2 separate regions of the Homo sapiens genome follow, and region 1 is linked to region 2. Evidence: promoter capture Hi-C in 16 types of primary human blood cells and fetal thymus (Javierre and others, 2016). All regions are on one chromosome and are shown on one strand. The core of a region is centred on a gene start or on the middle of the fragment in contact, and the rest is flanking DNA. Distances in the headings are between cores, read along the strand shown.

Region 1 (5,642 bases), core at 1,481-3,980, 520 kb after region 2:
GAATCCTATGCTTAGCATGATTATTGTTCTAGGATGAGGGCAAAAATATATATATTTTAGAATGAAGACAGAGGCTGTTTGCCACACTCACTGGAAATGCTGTACTAGTAAAAATGCACTTTATGAAAGAGAAAAGTCAACCCAGAGGAAGAAAAGACTTGGAAACAATAATAATGTCTCATTTATTGAGTGGTTGTTGTACACCAGGCACTGTTCTAAGGATTTTCTCTACAAAAAATGTAAAAATTAGCCGAGTGTGGTGGTTTGTACCTTTCCTTATTTATTTAATTCTTTTTCTTTCTTTCTTTTTTTTTTTTTTTTAAAGACAGGGTCTTGCTCTGTCACCCAGGCTGGAGTGCAATAGTGCAATCTCGGCTCACTGCAAACTCTGCCTCCCAGGTTCAAGTGATTCTTCTGCCTCAGCTCCCTGAGTAGCTGGGATTACAGGTGCTCACCACCGCAACCAGCTAATTTTTGTATTTTTAGTAGAGACAGGGTTTCACCATCTTGGCCAGGCTGGTCTTGAACTCTTGACCTCAAGTGATCTGCCCGCCTCGGCCTCCCAAAATGCTGGGATTACAGGTGTGAGCCACCATGCCCGGCCTCTTATTTATTTAATTCTCATGTTAACCCTCAGAACTGGGTGTGATTACTATCATACTCCCTTTACAGATGGGGAAACTGAGTCACAGAGGGGTTAAAACTTGCCCTGGTCACAGGTCAAGGTTTGGCTACAACAGTCCACATTCTTAAACACTATGCTATACCAACTCAAGAAGCGGTAGTGGAGAGCCAGGTGTCGTAGCTCATGCTTGTAATCCCAGCACTTTGGGAGGCTGAGACAGGAGGATTGCTTGAGGCCAGGAGTTCCAAGACTAGCCTGCACAACAGAGTGAGACCCCATCTCTACAAAAAATTTGAAAATTAGCCGAGTGTGGTGGTGTGCACCTGCAGTCCCACCTACTCAGGAGGCTGAGTCAGGAGGCTCCCCTGAGCCTGGGAGGTTGAGGATGCAGTGAGCCATGGTTGTGCCACTGCACTCCAGCCTAGCCAACAGAGTGAGACCCTGTCTCAAAAAATTATGATATTACTCCAGCTCTCTTTTGACAGAAAAAAAAATGTTTAATAGAAGCAATGGTGTGCTTTTCAAGTAAGCAACATTGCCTCAATGAGTAAAACCGTTTCCAAATTCTGACAGATATTAAAGTTTAAGATTCAGGCAGGAATAAGAAATCAGAATTCCCAGGAATTCTTGGGAATTCCCCAAATCATAAGCTATTCCTAAAATGCTTCCAACATGATTCATACTCTTAACCCAATCACCTAAAAATGTATTTGACAAATAAGAAACATTAAGCTTAATACTATTTATAAAGAACTGTAGCCTATAGGGCATATTACAACACGGGAAAAACCAGTGACCATTATTGGGTGATATTCAAATAATGTAATTTTTGGATTTCCTAGCAAGGTTAACAGTACTTCATGTGTCACTGCAAATAACACTTCATGTGTCAACATTGCCGATTTTAAGACTTATTTTGATTCCCAAATTTGTTCTTGGAACACCACTGATATGATAGAGTTTATATAAAGTATGTTATGCATATAGACAAGTTGATAATTATTTTATTTGCAAGAATGACTTGCAGCAGCAGACAGGGCCATCCATGGTCACAACATGGAATAGCTGCGGGCAAGATGCCTTCTTTTTTTTTTTTTTTCTGAGACAGGTTCTCACTCTGTCACCCAGGCTTAAGTGCAATGGCACGATCTTGGCTCACTGCAACTGCCGCCTTCCAGGTTCAAGCACTTCTCCTGCCTTAGCCTCCCAAGTAGCTGGGACTACAGGCACGCGTCACCATACCTGGCTAATTTTTTTGTATTTTTAGTAGAGACGGGGTTTTGCCATGTTGGCTAGGCTGGTCTTGAACTCTTGACCTCAGGTGATCCACCCACCTCGGCCTCCCAAAGTCCTGGGATTACAGGTGTGAGCCACTGGGCCCGGCCACCATGGCTCACACCTGTAATCCCAGCACTTTGGGAAGCCAAGGCAGGCAGATTGCTTGAGCTCTGCAACCTGTGAGTTTGAGACCAACCTCGGCAACATGGTGAGACCCAGTCTCTACAAAAATAAAATAAAATTACCTGGGCATGATGCATGGCTGTAGTCACAGCTACTTGGGAGGCTGAGGCGGGAGGACTGCTTGAGCCTGGGATGTCAAGTCTGCAGCGAGCTGTGATCATGCCATTGCACTCCAGCCTGAGTGATACAGTGAGACTCTGTCTCTAATAATAATAATAATAATAATAATAATAATAAGCTGGCCTGATGCAGTGGCTCACACCTGTAATCCCAGCACTTTAGAAGGTCAAGGCGGGCAGATTACCTGAGGTCAGAAGTTCGAGACCAGCCTGGCCAACATGGTGAAACCCCATCTCTACTAAAAATACAAAAAGTAGCCAGGCATGGTGGCGCACACCTGTAATCCCAGCTACTTGGGAGGCTGAGGTGGGAGAACCACTTGAACCTGGGAGGCGGAGGTTGCAGTGAGCTGAGATCGCGCCATTGCACTCTAGCCTGGGTGACAAGAGCAAAGCTCCATCTCAAATACATATATACATACATACATACATAAAAAGCCACAATAAGATAGTATCAGATTGTCAAAAATATCAGAGCCTAATAATACCAAGTATAGGCAAAGATATGGAGACAAGAAAACCCATATCTGTGCTAGTTGTGTGTGAATAAGGACAAACACTGCAGAGAGCAATTGGACATTTTTTCTATTGAAGATGTACATGTGCTATGACCTAGGAGTTTTATTGCCAGGCAAATATCCTAAGGAAACTTTCGTATATGAACACCATGTTCTATGCGTAAGAATGTTTACAGCAGGCTGGGTGAGGTGGCTCACACCTGTAATCCCAGCACTTTGGGAGGCTGAGGCGGGCAGATCACCTGAGGTAGGGAGTTCGTGACCAGCCTGACCAACGTGGAGAAACCCCATCTCTACTAAAAATACAAAATTAGCAGGGCGCATGTGGAAGATGAGCATGCGGGTGGTGGCACATGCCTATAATCCCAGCTACTAGGGAGGCTGAGGTAAGAGAATCACTTGAACCCAGGAGGCAGAGGTTGCAGTGAGCCAAGATCACGCCATTGCACTCCAGCTTGGGCAACAAAAGCGAAACTCCATCTCAAAAAAAAAAAAAGAAGAAAGAAAAGAAAAGATAGTCTACAGTAGCCTTATGTGCAATAGAGAAAATTTGGAAATAAGCTATGTGTCCTTCAGTAACAGAGGAGATAAATAGATCGTATTTTATTCACATAACAGATTAATGTAAAGCAGTAAAAATAAACTGCAACTACACATATCTACATGAATAAACCTCAAAAACATAAATTGGAGAGGAATACTTCAAAACAACTTTAAAGTTGCAAAAATATAGAACAATACTATGTATTGTTCAGGGGCATAGACATTTGATAAAGTGTGCTATTAAGAATTAGGATTATCATATACAATAATAGGAACAATTCATCAGCAATATATAAGAACTTTCATGTACCCCAAAATACGTCAAGAATTGTCAGAATTACAAGGAGAAATGGACAAATTCCCTGTGCTAGTTTGGATTTCAAGAAATAAACACCAAGATGGCATTAGATACACAAGAGATCTGGCGAAGGATGAAGGGGAGAGAGTGCAGAAGCAGGCTAGGGGCTGGGCATGGTGGTTCATGCCTGTAATCCCAGCACTTTGGGAGGCCAAGGCAGGAGGATTGCTTGAGGTCAGGGGGTTGAGACCAGCCTGGGCAACATAGGGAGACCCCCATCTCTACGAAAAATAAAATAATTAGGCACTAAGGCACATGCCTGTGGTCCCAGCCACTTCGGAGGCTGAGGCAGGAGGATTGCATTGGGCCCTGGAAGTTGAGGCTGCAGTGAGCAGTGATCATGCCATTGCCCTCCAGGCTGGGAGACAGAGTGAGACTGAAGCAAAGAAGTAGCAGGAGAGCCTTCAGGCCACAGAGGCAGGTCTGACGTATAAAGGAGGGAGGGAAGAAGGAAGCCTCAGGCTGCAGCAGGACTCTGAGCAAGCTTGGCCAGGCAGATGATGAGTCTCCAAGCAATGACTGTTAGAGGAGTCTTGCACCAGGCAGATGTGGTGGGGCTCCAGCACCCCCTTGGTGATTAGTCATTGCCTGGGAGCAACTGGGGTCAGGTCCCTTTGAAGGGGAATCTGAGCGGTGTAAGTCCATGGCCACCACATGTAATATTACAGTAGAAAGTCATAATCTGCATCCTATCCATCTCTCAGGAATTGACAGACCAAGCAGGCAAAAATGGAGATATTCTCCTAAAGATGAATGGGCAATAAGAGACTCCTATACCCAAGAATTAGAGACTATATCTTTCCAAGCACACATAGTACTTTTACAAAAATTGTACATGTTGTCTTTGAAGAAATAATTTTAAGACTGAAATGAAAAAAAAAGTTTTTTTAGACTGCATGTGTAGCAGGTCGCAGTGTCATGCTCAACACGTACAATAAATTGGTATTTGGCTACAATGCAATCAGGTTAGAAAGACATTATAAAATGATTTTCTAAACCCGTATGTTTTAAAATTTAAATTCATGGATTGCCTAACATAAAAGTTAAAGAAGATATCATAAGGGAAATCAGAAAATATTTAGAACTGAAAGATAATTAAGTCACTGTGTGATAAATCTCGAAGAATATCACTAAAGGAGTATGCAGAGGGAAATTTACAGCCTTAACTGCGCACATTAGAAAAGAAGAAGATTCAGCCAGGCCTGGTGGCTTATGCCTGTGATCCCAACACTTTAGGAGGCCAAGATAGGTAGACTGCTTGAGCTTGGGAGTTCAAGGCCAGACTGAGCAACATGGTGAAACCCCATCTTTACAAAAATTAGCCGGGCGTGGTGGTGGACACCTGTAGTCCCAGCGACTTGGGAGGCTGAGACAGGAAGATCATTTGAGCCCAGGAGGTTGAGGCTGCAGTGCGCTGTGTTTGTGCCACTGCACTCTAGCCTGGGCGGCATGACAGAGTGAGACCCTGTCTCAAAAAAAAAAAAAAAAAAAAAGGCTGGGCGCAGTGGCTCACACCTGTAATCCCAGCAATTGGGGAGGCCAAAGTGGGTGGATCACTTGAGGTCAGGAGTTCAAGACCAGCCTGGCCAACCTGGTGAAACCCCGTCTCTACTAAAAATACAAAAATTAGCCAGGTGTGGTGGCACTTGCCTGTAATCCCAGCTACTCGGGAGGCTGAGGCAGGAGAATGGCTTGAACCTGGGAGGCGGAGGTTGCAGTGAGCTGAGATCACGCCACTGCACTCCAGCCTGGGTGACAGAATGAAACTGTATCTCAAAAAAAAAAAAAAAAGAATAAGAAGATTCCCAATTCATGAGCTAAGTGTCCAACTCTAAAAGTAAGAAAAAGAGTAGAATAAAACAACAAAAACAAAAGTAGAAGGAATGAAACAAGAAAATCATAAAGATAAAAACAGAAATTAATCAAAGAAAAAAATGAATAGAGGATACACAAAACTGCAGCTGGATCTTTAAGACTCATGAAAAAGGCAGACCTCTGGCAACAGCAGCAGAGCAAAT
Region 2 (5,747 bases), core at 2,482-4,981:
CCTGCCCAGGTCATAGCCAGTGAGTAGAAAAGCCACTCAAACCAGGATCCTGTGTCTCCCTCCCCTTCAGGAGCTGCCTCGCTCGGATACTAAGTCCTTCGATAAGCATTCCCAATGTGCCCACTGTGTGCTGACCACCCTTTCCCCGCACCCGAGTATAGTGTTGGTCTCTGTGATCAGCATGCTCACCTCCAGGTCACAGTAGAGCAGGGGGCTTTGATAGGTGTGGGCCAGCTTCACCACGGTGTGCCGGTGAATGCTGCAGTGGCTCTCCCGCCCAGCTGGAAAGAAGCCATGAGTGCTATAGCTGCAATCTCTACCTTCCTGGCTGGAATTCAGGAAGTGCTGGGCAGAGTCACTCACTTCCCCACTCTGGGGCTCAGTTTCTTTCTAGTCGCGAGGGTGACAGTCCTATTCTACTTTCTTTTCTAGGTAGTCAAGAATATCAAATTAGACAATGAAGATAATAATAGCTCCTACCCCACTGAGTCACTCTAGAGTCAGTGAGTTGACATCTAGAAATTACTTGGCCTGCATTTGCTCACCAATGCTTCTTGAGAATTATCTGTGCCAGGCACTCTGCTCAAGGAGCTAACAGTTCAGCTGGGAAGGCAGACAGGTCAGACACCTCATGCATGCCGGAGTGACACTGGGGCTGAGTTTTGAGGTATTTGTAGGGGTTAGCAAGACAAAGAAGAGGAAATGTATTTGACAGAAGCCTAGAGTAAACAAAAAGAGGACGGCCGGGTGCGGTGGCTCAGGCCTGTAATCCCAGCACTATCTGAGGCAGGCGGATACCTGAGGTCAGGAGTTCAAGACCAGCCTGGCCAACATGGTGAAACCCCATCTCTACTAAAATACAAAAATTAGCTGGGCATGATGGCGGGTGCCTGTAATCCCAGCTACTCGGGAGGCTGAGATGGGAGAATTGCTTGAACCAGGGAGACGGTGGTTGCGGTGAGCTGAGATCACGCCATAGCACTCCAGCCTGGGCGGCTGAGCGAGACTCCGTCTCAAAAAAAAAAAAAAAAAAAAGGGACGGGCCCTGTAACAGGACTTACCTAGGTGTAAACCTTGGCTCTACCACTTTTCATCTAGGGGCCTGGGGCAACTTAACCTCATGACTGTAAAACAGAGGTAATAACACCTACCTCCAATAGGAATATGAAAACAAAGCAATTACCGTGTCTGCCTCACAGTGACAGCTCAAAAGATGTCAGCCATTATTATTTTCACTGTTAATATTACAAAGTCTCAGGAACAGCAGGACTTTTTCAGAGAACGATAAGCTGACCCAGAGAAGGAGAGTCACCGGAGATGAGACTAGCTCAGAAGGCAGAGGCCAAACTGCAAAGTGTTTTATGTCTTTAGAGTTTGGATTTTACCGAAAGCCACAGGCAACCACTAGGCAACTCCAAGTAATGGCAGAGTTATCTGCTCATATTCACTCTTAGAAAGGCTGACAACAGGTCAGATTCCAAAGTATGTGTATATGTGTTCTTTCGGTTTTTAAATTTAACTTTTATTTTAAGTTCAGGGGTACATGTGCAGATTTGTTATGTAGTTAAAACTTGTGTCATGGGGTTTGTTGTACAGATCATTGTCACCCAGGTATTAAGCCTAGTACCCATTAGTTATTTTTCCAGATCTTCTCCTTCTTCCTGCCCTCCACCCTCCGATAGGCCCCAGTGTGTGTAAAATACATGCTCTTTCCATCACCCAGGGTGCCTCAGCAAGAAGCCTACGGCCGCCCCAGCTTTCCCTTGGCTGGGGGTGGGCAGTAACAGGCGAGGAACGTACTTACCACCTGTGGCGAGGAAACACACCTTCCCCAAGAAGAAGCTGGCATCCACATGGCGCAGGGACTCCTCTGTGTTCTGGAGACTGGGGTGGCCAGGCCAGGGTGAGAAAACAAACCAGAGAACAAAACTTTACAACGGAGAAAGCAGAAGTCCTTGCTTCTCTGATCCTAGAGGCCAGAGAATGACAAGAGGGTGACTTTCTCTGGAGAAATATTTGTCCTTTAATTTTTTTTTTTTTTTTTTTTTTAGATGGAGTTTCACTTTGTTGCCCAGGCTGGAGTGCAGTAGCGCGATCTTGGCTCACTGCAACCTCTGCCTCCTGGGTTCAAATGATTCTCCTGCCTCAGCCTCCCGAGTAGCTGGGACTACAGGTACATGCCACCACGCCTGGCTAATTTTTGTATTTTAGTAGAGACGGGGTTTCACCATGTTGCCCAGGCTGGTCTCGGGCAATCTGCCCACCTTGGCCTCCCAAAGTGCTGGGATTACAGGTGTGAGCCATTGTGCCCGGCCGTTGTGTATTTTAAACATTGTGCACTGACCACTGGCTCCTCTCTCCTCACCTTACAGATTGACCTCAGCCAGCCTCTCCCATCCTCACCACTTCCCATCACAAGTTAGGTCACCGTCTCAGCACAGTCCTGAGCCAGGCCTGCCTGAGCCCTGACTGCCCCTTCCTCTGGCTCTCACCTGTATTTGCTGTGAAGATTAACCACAAACACGATCAGGTCAATTCGGGGCCGATTCACACTGGAGGGCAAAGGGAGGGACTTTGCCAAGTGGCTGAAAAACAGGAAATTGCAGGACTCAAGATATCCGTACCCCCCTCATAGCGACCGTTTAAATGCTGCCCTTCATGTGGAAAGAGGCCGTCAAGGGCTCCCCACCTCATCCTAGCCACCCGAGGCTCTTGTGGCCACGACTCCTTGGGCCAGCACAGAGGCAGGACAGGTCCGGTCCTATTCAGATTACTCCTGTCTGATTCCCTCTGCCAGAAACGGGCTCTGTTTAGTCACCACCTCGGCAAGGGGAGGTTGGGATATAAGACGGCATGGGACTAGCCAGCTACGCTGCATGCTGGGAGAAGGACCAGCCTCAGAGGAGGGGGCGCTGGGCTTCGGAGTTTAGCAGCTAGGACCGAATCCCTCTGGAGTGAGAGACACGTGGGCCCAGGCCACAGCCGCGGCTACTTACACCTTCAGCTCGGAGGCGCAGTCCTCTTTGAGCATCGAGTCCGCCAGCTGCTGCAGAAGAGCATCCTCCGTGCCCACCAGCTGCGCAGGGAGAGAGAGCGGACAGTCGAGCCCTAGGCACAGCACCCCCTGGGGAGGGCCTGGCCCTTCGACCCACTCCCGGGGGGATCGGGACACCGCCAGCAGGCGGCTCGGAGGACATTTCCCGAGAAGTGGACCCCGCGAAGCGGCACGGGCTGGGGGCCTGAGGTTTGGACCCGCTGCAGGCCTGTGGGCACCGCACTCTCTACTACCCGACCCTCGCTCCCACCGCCGGCCTCTCCAGGAGGCCAGACCCCCAGACGCGGGAAAACCAATTCCAGGCGCGGGAACTCGCCAATCAGAAGCTGGGAAAGGGTCCGCCGAGCACCTATTGGTGGGTGCGTCCCTCAACCTCAGAGAGCGGCTACTCCAATTGGTTCAGAGCATGGCTCTCCGCCTATTCCCCGCCCCCGCCACGGTAGCGCGCGCTGGCTTGGCGCCTCAGAGAGCTCAGTTGACCTAGTGGCTGAAGCACCGCCCAGGAGGAAAAACCGGCGGGGGAAGCAGGGCCGCCTGCACCTACCAAGATGGTGGCCGTGTTCAGGCCGGGCAGCTTGTCCAGGGGCCTCAACACCGACATCACAGCCGCAGGACCAACCGTTGCTCCTGCGGTGCGCGCCGATCTTTCAAACCGCCCTGAGTCCAGCCCCTAGAGCGCGGCCTGGGGGCACGTGCCTCCTTATAGGCGGGGCTTCGCGGGACGGGACGGGGCCTCTTAAAGGAACCGAACCTTTATCTCCTTTTCTGAGGGGCGTTCCAGCGCTACCCGTGGAACACGTGGTGGACAGGCCTTTGGTTCCACGCTCCACAGTAAGCAGGTTTTTAGTGATTCCTTTGTTCACTTTCATTCATTCATGCTCATACACAGTACTTTTTTTTTTTTTTTTTGAGACAGAGTCTCGCTTTGTGGCCCAGGCTGGAGTGCAATGCGCGCAATCTCGGCTCACTGCAACTTCTGCCTCCCGAGTTTAAGCGATTCTCCTGCCTCAGCCTCCCAAGGAGCTGGGACTACGGGCGCGCGTCACCACGCCCGACTTATTTTTTTATTTTTAGTAGAGACGGGGTTTCTCCAAGTTGCCCAGGCCGGTCTCAAACTCCTGGCCTCAAGTGATCCCGCCTCGGCCTCCCAAAGTGAGTGCTGAGATTACAGACGTGAGCCACCGTGCCTGGCCCTTTTTTTTTTTTTTTTTTTGGAGCGTCACTTTGTTGCCCAGGCTGGACTATAGTGACACGATCATAGCTCACTACAGCTTCAAACTCCTGGGCTCAAGTCATCTTCCTGGCTTAGCCTCCTGAGTAGCTGGAACTACAGGCAAGTGCCACCATGGGGATCTGGCCATGTTGCCCAGGTGGGTCGTAAACTCCTGGCCTCAAGCAGCCCTCCTGCTTCAGCCTCCTGAGTAGCTGGGACTACCGCTGCACACCAGCAGGCCCTGCCAATTGACTGCTTTTACAGTGAGTGGTAAGCATGCTGTTCTTTGTCCAATGGGAGACTTTACCTCATCTTTCAAGGTTCCTTGCTGCAAACACAGCCTGAGTACAGAGCTGTCAGGGTCTTGCTTTCTTGACATACCCAGCAAGAACATGCAGGGACGCTCAGGGCCCATAGCAAACTGGTTCTGCCAACAGTTATATAATAACTTGTTCACTGTCTCTACATCTAAAATGTAAGAAACAAGAGGTTAGAGACTTTGTCACTTTGTATGTCCAGCACTCTAAAAGTCCCTGGTACATCGTAGTTAATAAATATTTGTTGAGTGAATGGATGGATTACATTCATCCATTCATTCTCAGCAGTCATTCATTCATCATTTCCTATGCCCAGACCCAATGCCCTACCCTAGGAAGTCAGTTGAATCAGACATTATTGATTAACTTAGTTTGATGGGGGTGGGATAGACAATGATAACAGTGTGTTCATTGTTGTAATAACTGGGAGAGCAGAGACACTGTCTAGCCTAAATCCTTCTTACTGCAGACTAAACTAACTGTGTCTTGCTCAGAAAGATCAGGACGTAAATGGCCCCATAGAGCCACTGCCCTCAGCACAGATACGGCTTTCATTCCTCATGGCATGGGGTGTGGAGAGGACTTCCTGAAAGTCAAGCAGTAGTAGGCACTATGACAAGAAAATAAAGTAAGCTGAACGCCGTGGCTCATGCCTATAACCCAGCACTTTGGGAGACCGAGGCGGGTGAATCACTTGAGGCCGGGAGTTTGAGGCCAGCCTAGGCAATATAGTGAGACCTCATCTCTACAAAAAAATTTTTAAATTAGCTGAGCAGGGTGGGCATGGTGGTTCACGCATGTAATCCCAGCATTTTGGGAGGCCGAGGCGGGCGGATCACCTGACATCAGGAGTTTGAGACCAGCCTGACCAGCATGGAGAAACCCTGTCTGTACTACTAAAAATACAAAATTAGCTGGGCGTGGTGGTGCATGCCTGTAATCCCAGCTACTTGGGAGGCTGTGGTAGGAGAATCGCTTGAACTTGGGAGGCAGAGGTTGCAGTGAGCTGAGATTATGCCAGTGTACTCTGGCCTGGGCAACAAGAGCGAAACTCCATCACAAAAACAAAAAACAAACAAACAAATTAGCCAGGTATGGTGGCGGTGGCGGGCGCCTGTAATACCACCTACTCGGGAGGCTGAGGCAGGAGAATCACTTGAAC

What was found. Contacts are between HindIII fragments. The CHiCAGO score rates a contact against its expected background, and 5 or more counts as called.
Region 1: a fragment that was not itself captured here is called in contact with the fragment with the promoter of CENPM in region 2 in 1 of 17 cell types (neutrophils); the score reaches 5.1 in neutrophils.

The regions. Positions count from the first base shown.
Region 1 is chr22:42,464,913-42,470,554 of GRCh38, forward strand. No RefSeq gene overlaps it. Among named protein-coding and RNA genes, the nearest start is that of NFAM1, 35 kb to the left of the region's middle. The HindIII fragment of the contact is 2,751 bases long and covers 1,356-4,106 here.
Region 2 is chr22:41,943,421-41,949,167 of GRCh38, forward strand. CENPM (centromere protein M) reads right to left here and starts at 3,732. Exons shown (of 6, transcript NM_024053.5): 1 at 3,600-3,732; 2 at 2,997-3,076; 3 at 2,493-2,585; 4 at 1,805-1,884; 5 at 190-281. The coding sequence starts at 3,656. It also overlaps a transcript of SMIM45 not described here. RefSeq lists an enhancer at 3,536-3,745. The HindIII fragment of the contact is 15,549 bases long and covers 1-5,747 here.